Linked DNA regions of Homo sapiens: region 1 is linked to region 2. Evidence: promoter capture Hi-C in 16 types of primary human blood cells and fetal thymus (Javierre and others, 2016). All regions are on one chromosome and are shown on one strand. Each heading gives the region's core, a stretch centred on a gene start or on the middle of the fragment in contact. The rest is flanking DNA. Distances are from core to core; before and after follow the strand shown.

Region 1 (6,029 bases), core at 1,792-4,291, 1.2 Mb before region 2:
CAACTGCAATCAGTGTCACATACTGACACTTCCACAATATCCCATTGGTTACTTGGGTCAAGTTTATTCAATGTGGGAAGGGATGACAACAGGAGGGCCATCTTGGAGGCCACCACATTTGGTTGTACAAAATCTTCATGATGTTTCATATTGTTTTAATACTCTAATGAGTTAATGTTTAATAGAAAATAATAGCTTATAGGTATGAGGCATCTGGTTTGATTTTATTTAATCTTTAAAACAATGGCATAAGGTAGGTGCTTTTAATACCCCTTTCCACAGATAAGGAGGTTGAGGAACAGACAAATAACTTGTCTAAGTGTTCACCCAGTAAGTGCAGGGCCAGGTTCTAAACCCAAGTTCTAAACTGCCAAGATTCAGGGTAATTTGTTACACAGCAATAGATAACTAATACAGTAATTGTCTCAAACTGCTACACACTTGATTTTAAAGGTTGTCTAGCCTCATGCAGATCCCCAAATACTTTATCACAAAATACCAGAAAAGGAGGTTAGAGTGGTTTCAGTTGGAAATTAGGAACTACTGTCAACTCTACCTTGATACTGAAGGTCTGTAACCACAGTGGTTTCAGGATAAAGTAATTCACAGACAGCTATCAGTTAATAGAGCCAAGGGGCTATAACATGCACTCCTTCTGTCTTGGACTTTCCCCTAGTATATTTCTCAGCTGACGTTTTTTTTCTTTTTTTTTTTTCTTTTTCTTTTTTTTTTTTTTTTTTTTGGAGACAGGGTCTATTGCTCTGTTGCCCTGGCTGGACTGCAGTGGCGCAATCATAGCTCACTGTAGCCTTGACCTCCCGGGCTCAAGCAATCCTCCTACCTCAGCCTCCTAAGTAGCTGGGACCACAGGCACCCACCACCGTACCTGGCAAATTTTTTAGATTTTTTTCTAGAGATGAGGTCTCACTATATTGCCCAGGCTGGTCTCAAGCAATCCTCCTGCCTTGGCCTCCCAAAGTGCTGTGATTACAGGCATGAGCCACCACACCCAGGCTCAGCTGATCTACTGACCACTTGCCAAGACACCCAGTAAAACAGATTGTTCATTGTTTATATTCTAATAGTCAACATTTATTGAGTTCTTATTATGTGCCAGGTGCTATTCTAAGTGATTTACGTATACCCAATCACTTATTTTTATTCCCATTTTATAGATGACAAAACAGAGGCACCAAAAGGTTAAACCAGGGCTCACCATCATTAAGTGGCAAAGCTCGAATTTGCATTCAAGTAAACTGACTCACTATTAACCACTGTGTTAGAGGTTAACACAATGAGGCAGAAGTTCCAAAAACTCTAGGAGAAGACAGAAGGGTTTCAAGGGCTATGACCTACCAAGTAAAAGGCAAAAGAATTGGCAGCAAGTTAAATTTATCTTTCTCCTGATAATGTTCTTTCAACTCTCAGAGGCTGAATTTGCTAAGAAATTATAAAATGTTGTTTAGGGTTAGAACTGTTTTTACTCCCACCTCCTTAAATAAGCTTTGTTCAGAATGTCCATTTGAAACTTAGACTGGAACTTTCTGTGCCCTAGTTTCTATATTAGCTAGGCCACAAAACAAAAAAAAATTCTAAGGTTCTATCAGCCATATAGATCTCAGTCATCTTTTTAGTCATACTAGAACTCACCAAGTCCTCTTAACTGAAAGGACTCCTGGCCTACCATCAAAATGCTCATGTGTTAGGCTTTATATCTGGATTAAAGTCAAGTCAGCAAGAACTGGTCTCAGAGGAATTCATTCCTCCAGAGCAGAGGCAATGTGTGAGATTTAAGAACTCAGGCCTTAGCATCTGGCAGATCTTTAAATTTGAATCTTAGCTCGCTACTTGACATAGAGCAAGAAACATGAGTCTCAAATATAAATCAGGGAACAGCAGGACCAGAGCTGATGCACAGGAAGCACCTCGCATTGTAGAAGGCACTCAATAGCTGCTTGGTATAGAGTAAATACATGCTTGGTTTTCAGTAAATAAATACTTGATATTGAAACGATTATTTCAGTCATTGATCCATGCACAAGAAAATTGTGCATCATAAACATTTTACTCTTGAGCAAACATCAATTATTAAAAACATATGTTCAAATTCATTATCCATTCTATTTAATTAAATGCTTGAGGCGCTTGGGGAGCTTACATTTGTGATTTAAGTCTGTGCGTTTTTCAAATGTATCTTTCGGAAGAGATTAAGACACTGCAATTTTAAGCAGGGCAGGTGGCTCACGCCTGTAATCCCAGCACTTTGGGAGGCTGAGGTGGGCAGATCCCTTGAGGCCAGGAGTTCAAGACCAGCCTGGGCAACAAAGCGAGACACTGTCACCATAAAAAATATTTTTTTAAATTAAAAAGAGTGCAATTTGAACACATGTCAATATACGATTACCTTTTAATTCAAATGTGTAGCTATCTACTGTGCTGGAATCAGGTGGGCAGCAGGTGATCCCACTAGTGGCAACTTGGTGTTCTGCGATGTGGCACATCCACTTCTTAAATGCAGATTATTGCACTGTAATAAAAATCCTCCATATTCAGTGCTTTCATTGTGTATAATTATGTAAACTGTAGACAAAAAATATTCCTGAATTTGTGTGTGTGTGTGTGTGTGTGTGTGTGTGTGTGCGGATGCGCAATCCGAGATGGTTGTTAAAGCTCGAAAGCGAGTTTAGCTTCTAGAGTCGCCCCTCCTCCGAGGCCCAGCCGAGGTGGACTCGCACCGTCGCAAGACCGGCCAGGCGGTGGCAATGAATAAAAAGCCAGTCTTGGTGCTAGGGACCCAGGTGTTCTCCGTCCCGCCCCTGCCTGGCAGCCCCGCCCCTCCCCCGCCCCGGGCCACGCCCCACCCTGGCCCAGCCCCCAAAAGTACCGTTTGCATCTCCCGTGAGCCTCTTCGACTGTCACTCTTTGGAAAAAAAAGTGACGTCTGCACTGAGGTGGCCGCTAAAGTGCGAATCACGACGGGCGGTGGCCGTTGGGTCCCGGCGGGAGGCGGGGTTTCCGCTCCCTGGGGCGCACGTCAGTCAGGAGGCGGAAGCGCAGCGGGGGCGGGAAGGTTGTAGTGCCGCGAGTTGAGCTCCTCTTGCCTAAGTGGTCGCGCCCCCTTTAAGAGCAGCGATTGTAAGGAGAGGCGGTCCCGGTGTCCTCGGGTCCCAGGTAAGTACGACAGTCTGGAGGCACCGGGCAATAGAAAAGTGTGGCTCCGGTGCTAACCTGTCGCCGCCGTCTTTGTTGCTACAGGCAGCGACCTCCCTTCCGACCTTGCCACCTAACATTTCTGGCTCCTACTTGCTTCCTTCGTCTCGTTCACAGCCCGGGCCCAGCCGGCTCTGCACATCCGTAGGCAGGGACCTTTCTGGCACGCCAGTCTACCCTGTCACAAGATGGCCCTGTTGTCCTCCAGTCCTAACCCCGCATTGCTCGCTCTGTGTTTCAGCCGCTGGAGACACCTAACGATTCATTTACTAAAAACCGGTGTCTGTTTTCTATCCCTTGTGTCTTTCCCGGGCTCCCTAGACTAAGGCATCACTCTTTGCTGCCAATGAAATCAATTCTTTGCCTCCGGCACTGTGCCCACCTTTTAAAGAGCGGGTTTGTTAAGCTTTTTTTTTTTTTAATTAATAGTATGGTTGCTTGAATAAGACTTTATTTTCCCTTCTGAAAGCAGGATTAGGGTCTTGCTCATCTTGGATCTCCCCAGGATTTAGTACGAAAGCACGAAGTTTGGAAACCAGCAGCCCAAATAATTCCTACTAGCTCTATGACCCTGGGTACGGTTTCCTCATCTATAAAATGGTGATAAATAAATAAAGGAACTAATTTCGAGCATGTTACACAGTGTATGGTGCAGAGCAGATACAGTACTCCTTTACCTTTTTTAGCTTTCAGTGTACACAGTAGTTTTTGGGTATGTGTTTTAGACGAATGCAGAGACACCATAGATGAATGATTTTTCTTCCTAGCACCATGATTATATTGACTCTATCAATTGGTTGATATATTTGGTAAATACAACCTAATGACGTTTATTAAAGACAGTAATGCTAAATGGTATGAACATCTGCAAGAATAAACAATGCCGTATTTAATTAAATGCTTGAGGCACTAGCAGAGTTTACATTTGTTTCAGTCTGTGTACATTTCAAATGTATCTTTCTTTCTTTTCTTTTTTTTTTTTTTTGAGACCGAGTCTCGCTGTCTCGCTCTGTGGCCCAAACTGGAGTGCAGTGGCGCGATCTCGGCTCACTGCAACCTCCGCCACCCGGGTTCAAGTGATTCTCCCGTCTCGCCCTCCCGAGTAGCTGGGACTGCAGGCGCTTGCCACCACACCCGGCTGATTTTTTTTTTTAATTTTATTTTTAGTAGAGACTGGGTTTCACCATGTTAGCCAGGATGGTCTCGATCTGCTGACCTCGTGATCCGCCCGCCTCGGCCTCCCAAAGTGCTGGGATTACAGGCGTGAGCCACCGCGCCCGGCACAAATGTATCTTTCTGAAGAGATTAAGAAACAGCAAACATTTCATTGTAAGGAGGCTAGCTGTTCCTTTTAGTTTGTGATTAAAATATGGTGCATTGTATATGTGTGTACACATATTTTATAGGTGATTGTGAAGTGCTGACCAATTGCCACTGGACATACTTGAAACAAAATAGGAAAATGGCAGCAAACTCTTCAGGACAAGGTAATGACAGCAGGAATTTCTTTACTATGAACATTTCCCCAATATAGTAAATGTATTTGAATAAGAGAAAATTTAGCATAGGGCAGTTACTGTAGCCAGAATTTAAAAAATGAATAGCAGGCCGGGAGCGGTGGCTCACGCCTGTAATCCCAGTACTTTGGGAGGCCAAGTCGGGTGGACTGCTTGAGGTCAGGAACCCCGTCTCTACTAAAATACAAAAATTAGCTGGGCATGGTGGCGGGCACCTGTAATCCCAGCTACTAGGGAGGCTGAGGCAGGAGAATTTCTTGAACCCAGGAGGCGGAGGTTGCAGTGAGCCGAGATTGCACCACTGCACTGCAGCCTGGGCGACAGAGTGAGACTCCGTCTCAAAAAAAAGAAAAAGAAAAAAAGAAGAACATCAAAGTAAAACTCTAAATTTGAAATACACTTGTGCTGAATAATGATGTTTAGGTCAATGACAGACTGCTTATAGGATGGTGGTCCCATAAGATGGTAATGGAGCTGAAAAATTTCAATCGCCTAAGTGACATCTTGATAATCCTGACCCTGTGTAAGCCTAGGCTAATGTGTTTGTTTGTGTCTTCATTTTTAACAAGAAGTTTAAAAAGTAAAAAAAATTAAAAATTTTAAAAATAGAAAACTTTTAGAATAAAGATATAAATAAAATACTTTTTTTTTTTTTTTGAGATGGAATTTCGCTCTTGTTGCCCAGGCTGGAGTGCAATGGCATGATCTTGGCTCACTGCAACCTCTGCCTCCCAGGTTCAAGCAATCCTCCTGCCTCAACCTCCCGAGTAGCTGGGATTACAGGCACACGCCATCACGCTCAGCTAATTTTGTATTTTTAGTAGAGACTGGGTTTTTCCATGTTGGTCAGGCTGGTCTCAAACTCCTGACCTCAGGTGATCCGCCCGCCTTGGCCTCCCAAAGTGCTGGGATTACAGGCATGAGCCACTGTGCCTGGCCCAGTGTTTTGTGTTTTAAGCTAAGTGTTATTACAAAAGTCAAAAAGTTAAAAAAATTTAAAAGTTTATAAAGTAAAGTTACAGTAAGCTAAGGTTAATGTATTATTGAAGAAAGAAAAATTGAATAAATTTAGTGCAGCCTAAGTGTACAGTGTTTATAAGTATACAGTACTATATAGTAATGTCCTAGACTTTCACATTCACTCACAACTCACTCACTGACTCACCCAGAGCAGCTTCAGTCCTGAAAGCTCCATGCATCCATGCATGGTAAATGCCCTATACAGGTATACCATTTTTTGTCTTTTAAACCGTGTGTGTGTGTGTGTGTGTGTGTGTGTGTGTGTGTGTGTGTGTGTATGTA
Region 2 (5,269 bases), core at 621-3,120:
GTCAGGAGTTGGAGACCAGCCTGGCCAACATGGAGAAACCCCGTCTTTACTGAAAACACAAAATTAGCCGGACGTGGTGACGCATGCCTATAATCCCAGCTACTCGGGAGGCTGAGGCAGGGGAATCGCTTGAACCCAGGAGGCGGAGGTTGCGGTGAGCCGAGATCGCGCCATTGCACTCCAGCCTGGGCAACAAGAGCGAAACTCCGTTTCAAAAAATAAAATAAAATAAATAAATAAATGAATAAAAATAAAATAAAATAACAAACCCATTGTTTTTTACTCAGATTCTGTATTTATCTGGGGTGGCTTTGGAAGGATCCATTTGAAATTATGGGAAGTCAAATTTCCCCAAACCAGTCTTTGGTGCAGCTACTTTCTATAGTCACGGAAACAGTAAGGAAAGGTTGAATGCACCAAACTGTTAATAGGGATTATTTATGGGCATGAGTGGGATGAGGGGGGATGGTGGGTATGCAGTTGGGAGAAGACCTGTATACACCTCTCTATTGTTTGTAAGTAGTTCATTGTGTATTTATTTTGGAGGCAACATCAAATAAAAGAGGAGCATACATGAAAAAAGGGGTTGGTTAACTTAGTGTAGTATGAAGTTACAAACAAAAAAGGGTGATGGTAGTGCAGTGTTTTGAATTAACATGGAACAATGTGTGTGAAGGAATAATTGATCCAGAACTTTATTGTAGAAACCTGTCCCCATCAAAGCCATACATGGGGCTGTATATATATGTCCAGAGAAAAGGTCTTCTGCACACTTAACTGTAACTGTTAGTCATAATTTCTCTGCAGAGTGGGATGGTGGGGCTAGGAGGAAGGACTTTCACTTTTAATTTTATGATACTCCAAATCATTTGCATTTTTTTTTTACAAAAATTATGTATAATTTTTCTTTTTTTTTTCTTTTTGAGACGGAGTCTCGCTCTGTCCCCCAGGCTGGAGTGCAGTGGTGCGATCTCGGCTCACTGCAAGCTCCGCCTCCCGGGTTCAAGCGATTCTCCTACCTCAGCCTCCCGAGTAGTTGGGATTACAGGCGCGCGCCTCCACGCCCAGCTAATTTTTGTATTTTTTAATTAGAGACAGGGTTTCACCATGTTGGCCAGGCTGGTCTCGAACTCCTGACCTCGTGATCCACCCGCCTAAGCCTCCGAAAGAGCTGGGATTACAGGCGTGAGCCACCGCGCCCGGCCCAAGATCATGTATAATTTCTATAACAAAAACAATAAAGGAAATAAAAATGTCTTCAGTGTTGTACCTTGTACTTGGCCTATGTTACAACAGGAATGACATATATTCCATTTTTAAGACATTACTTAGGGCTTTATAGATTTCTGCTTTAAGGAATAAATGCAATTTCAATCTATTTAAGACTTGATTTCTTCTTATATAAAAAAAGTATCTGATCTTGTATCTAATTTGTTATGACAGTACCATCACTTAAAGTACAGCAATTATGCAACCCCTGAATTTGAATTTCATTTTGCAAGTGTACATGACCTCACGGACAAAGCGAAGGCAGAAAGTTAAAATCAGCATATCGAAAATAAATCACTCTAGTTACCGAAAAGAACATAGGGTATCTGAACAAAATCTCAGAGCTCACATAGGCATAGATACTTCCATGTGAACTTTAGGAATCTTGCCTTATCTAACTTTTGCAGGGCTGAGTGGACCCCCTGCTCCCGCTAGCCGTTTTGGGAGCACCAGCCACCTCCACACCAGAACTGGGCTGTCGGGGGCCGCTGCGGCGCAGGGGCTCGTCCGGGACTGAGTCAGCGCCGGGGCCGAGAAGTTCGGCGGGAGGCGCAGGGCGGGGCTTCCTCCCGCCGACTCCGAGCCCGGCTCTACTTTTCTGAGTCCACGTCTCTTCCTTTGGACAGGCGTGTTTCCCCAGGTCGGGCCCAGCCAACGTGACAGCCGCAGACCTCGGAAAAGGGCGCTCCGGCCCCGCCTCGAGGATTTCCCCCGGCCGCTAGGGCAGCCCGGGCCCGCTCGGCCCAGCCCCTCACGGACTGCGGCGCGCGGCTCCCCGGGGCCCGGCCCGCCGAACGCCTCGCTCTACAGCCCTCACCTCGCGGCGCCGAGCGCAGCGTCCGCGGCATGGAGACCGGCTCCGACTCAGGTCAGAGGCCCGCCCCCGGGCCGCGGGGGACTGGCCCTGCGCGCGCGGCGGCGCGGTTAGGCCGGGCCGCCCGCACAGGCCGCCGCGTGTCGAGTCCGCGCGGGGAGCGCACGCGGGGCGGGCGGCGACAGGTGGGCAGGACGAGCCGCGAGCGAGCGAGGGCGGGCGGGCGCGCGAGGGGCCCGGCGGGGGGGCCGCTGGGAGGATGGCTCAGCTCTTTCTAAATATAAAACCGGCGTGAGTTGGGCGAGCGCGGCGCGGAGTCGCAGAGCCGCCGCGCGGGCCTGGCGCACGGGGATTCGGCCGCACAGACGGCGGCGGCGGCAGCGGCAGCGGCTCCGCAGAGGCGCGAGGCTGCGGGAGCGCCCGAGTCGCGAGCTCGCGGGGGCAGCGAAGGGCGACGCTCGCGACGCGGAGGACGCAGGCGGCGGCGGCGGGCGGGCCTCGGGGCACAGCGCGGTCCGCGCCGAGTGAACGGAGGCGGCTCGCGGCCCCTGCCGCACCGCGAGCCGCGAGCCCCCCGGCCGCGCCCTGCCCCCCCAGCCCCTCCCTCGTTCCCTCCCCGGCGCAACATGGCTGCGGCCGCCGCCTCCGCCTCCCAGGATGAGCTGAGTAAGTGCCGCGGCCGAACCTGCGGCCGCGAGCCGGAACGGGCGCCGCGCGGTGCCGGGGGCCGGCGGCCGCATGAGGGCTGGGGCGCCAGGCCCGGTGGGCGGGCGGCGGCCGCGGCGTACGGGGAGCTGGGGAGCCCGGGCCTGGCGGACGGGCGGGGCGCGGACCGTCGCCGCTGGCGTTTGTAGGCCTCAGGTTTGCACCGTCACGTTGCGAAATTGAAACCGGAGCCCCGGGCGGAGCCACCTCTGCCCGCGATCCGCCCTGGCCCGGGGTCGGGGGAGCCCAGCCCCCTGCCCACTGAGCCTCGGCTGGCGGGAGGGCCGGAGCCCCGGGGTGACGGGCAGTGTCCGCCCGTCCCGTCTGACCCCGCCTGGCCCCGGGTCCCCGACGGCTGGTTGAGTTATAGAAATGGAGCTTTCGGGAAGGGGGAGAAGGTGCCTTTTTGTGACACTCTAGTAATCAGCCGAAAGGTCACGAATAGGCGGTGACCCTCAGATGGAGCAGGGAGGGCGGAGAGGGTCGCCGGTCGAACCGCAGGAGAAACCACGGGGTGACAGCGCTTTCAGAAAGGAGAGTTAGTGCCCCCTCGATCGTACGCGGTGCAGCCTTCCCGGGGACGGCGGTCCCTGTCTGGGGAGAGCGGTGGTCACCCTGAATCCCAGGCCGCCCCGCCCGCCGCCGGGGTTCGCCTCAATGCTTTGTGGGAAGTGTAGTTCCGGGGCGCCGCGGACCCACGCTGGGGTCATAAATACCGAAGTTTCATAGGACATAGGACATGTGAGATAATTTCTGATTGCGTTTTGAGTGTTCTCCCCCCCAAGGGTTTTCTTTCTTTCCCTTTTTTTTTTTCTCCCAATGCTGCCCTTCAGTTTATGGCAAAAACAAGAAAGGTGTTATTTGAAGATGATGTGGGTTTTAAATGGAATAAAGCATGGGTGAGGTGTTGCAAGCTTTATGAAGCTTACGTTGTTAAAGCCGCTTCTGAATTTCCATATGAAAGTAGTTATACACGTAATGTATGTTTTTCTGGTGCTTGTCAGTTTAAAGCCACTTTTATATACATGATCTCACTTTTGCCCTCATAGCAACCTTGTGAGGCAGATAGGTAGGAATTATCCTTGTTTTAAAGAGGAGGCAGGTTTGGAGAGATTAAGTTCCTTGCTGCTTTGACACAGAACTGGTGGAGCAGGAGTACTGTTTGCTTTTTTTGAAGCTGAAGTAAACACTTGGTGTGATCCTGAGCAGATTGGAGAGTCGGAGGAGACAAGGTCTCATGGTGCGATTAGAGAGAGAAGCGGGCTACAGATTGCTCTTCTGTCGGTTCCACGTGGAAGCACCACCAGGCCTTCTGAGATCAGTTCCATGTTTTGTTTTAATTGGAAGAAAAGTACACATACCATAAAATTTCCCGTCCTAGCCATTTTTTAAGTGTACAGTTCAGTGGGATTGAGTACATTCACACTGTTGTGTAATCATCACCACCATCCATTTCCAGAACTCTTCGTCTTGTAAAACGGAAACTTGATACCCATTAAACAACAAATCCTCATTCCCTCCTCCCTTCGGCCCCTGGCGACCATCATTGTACTTTCTGTCCCTGTGATTTTGAGTATTCTTCCTACCTCGTGTGAATGGAATCATACAGAATTTGTGACTGGTTTTATCTTTATTTAGCATAATGTCCTCAAGGTTCATCCATGTTGTTGCGTGTGTCAGAATTTCTTTTCCTTTTAAAGGTTGAATGATATTCCCTTGTATGTATATATCACATTTCCTTGTCCATCTATCTGTCTATGGACACTTGGGTTGCTTCCACATTTTAGCTATTGGGAATAATGCTGTTGTGAACATGGGTGTACAGATACCCCTTTGAGACCTTGCTTTCAGTTCTTTTGGGTACATACCCAGAAATGTAATTGCTGGATCATGTGATAGTTCTAGTTTTAAATTTTTAAGGAACCACTGTACTGTTTTCTTTTTTCTTTTTTTTTTCTTGAGACCAAGTCTTGCTCTGTCGCCCAGACTGGAGTGCAGTGGCGCGATCTCCGCTCACTGTAAGCTCCGCCTCCCAGGTTCACGCCATTCTTATGCCTCAGCCCTCCGAGTAGCTGGGACTGCAGGCGCCCGCCACCACGCCCGGCTAATTTTTTGTATTTTTAGTAGAGACGGGGTTTCACTGTGTTAGCCAAGATGGTCTTGATCTCCTGACCTTGTGATCTGCTGTGATCCACCCGCCTCGGCCTCCCAAAGTGCTGGGATTACAGGCGTGAGCCACCGCGCCCGGCCCCCACTGTACTGTTTTTGACAGTGGTTGTACCATTTTACATTACCACCAACAATACACAGAGTTCTAATTTCTCTATATCCTGGCCGACACTTATCTATATTGTCAGTAGTAACCATCCTGTTGGGTGTGAGGTGGTCTGATTTTTTTTCAATTGCTATGCTGTATGACATCTGAGTTCCTGTTGTAGAACCAAACACATTAAAGTCTGAATTGATAGCAGGAATGGGAAC

The links. The method cuts DNA at HindIII sites, captures the fragments that hold promoters and counts their contacts. A CHiCAGO score of 5 or more calls a contact.
Region 1: the fragment with the promoter of INIP here is called in contact with the fragment with the promoter of ECPAS in region 2 in 5 of 17 cell types (total CD8 T cells, naive CD4 T cells, naive CD8 T cells and 2 more); the score reaches 11.4 in total CD8 T cells.

What each region holds. Positions count from the first base shown.
Region 1 is chr9:112,715,129-112,721,157 of GRCh38, reverse strand. It overlaps INIP (INTS3 and NABP interacting protein), which reads left to right and starts at 3,041. Exons shown (of 5, transcript NM_021218.3): 1 at 3,041-3,171; 2 at 4,617-4,697. The coding sequence starts at 4,673. RefSeq lists a silencer at 2,830-2,989 and an enhancer at 3,360-3,459. The HindIII fragment of the contact is 2,113 bases long and covers 1,506-3,618 here.
Region 2 is chr9:111,480,984-111,486,252 of GRCh38, reverse strand. It overlaps ECPAS (Ecm29 proteasome adaptor and scaffold), which reads left to right and starts at 1,870. Exons shown (of 50, transcript NM_001364929.1): 1 at 1,870-2,137. RefSeq lists silencers at 1,771-2,310, 2,431-2,550, 2,821-3,240. The HindIII fragment of the contact is 4,796 bases long and covers 1-3,704 here.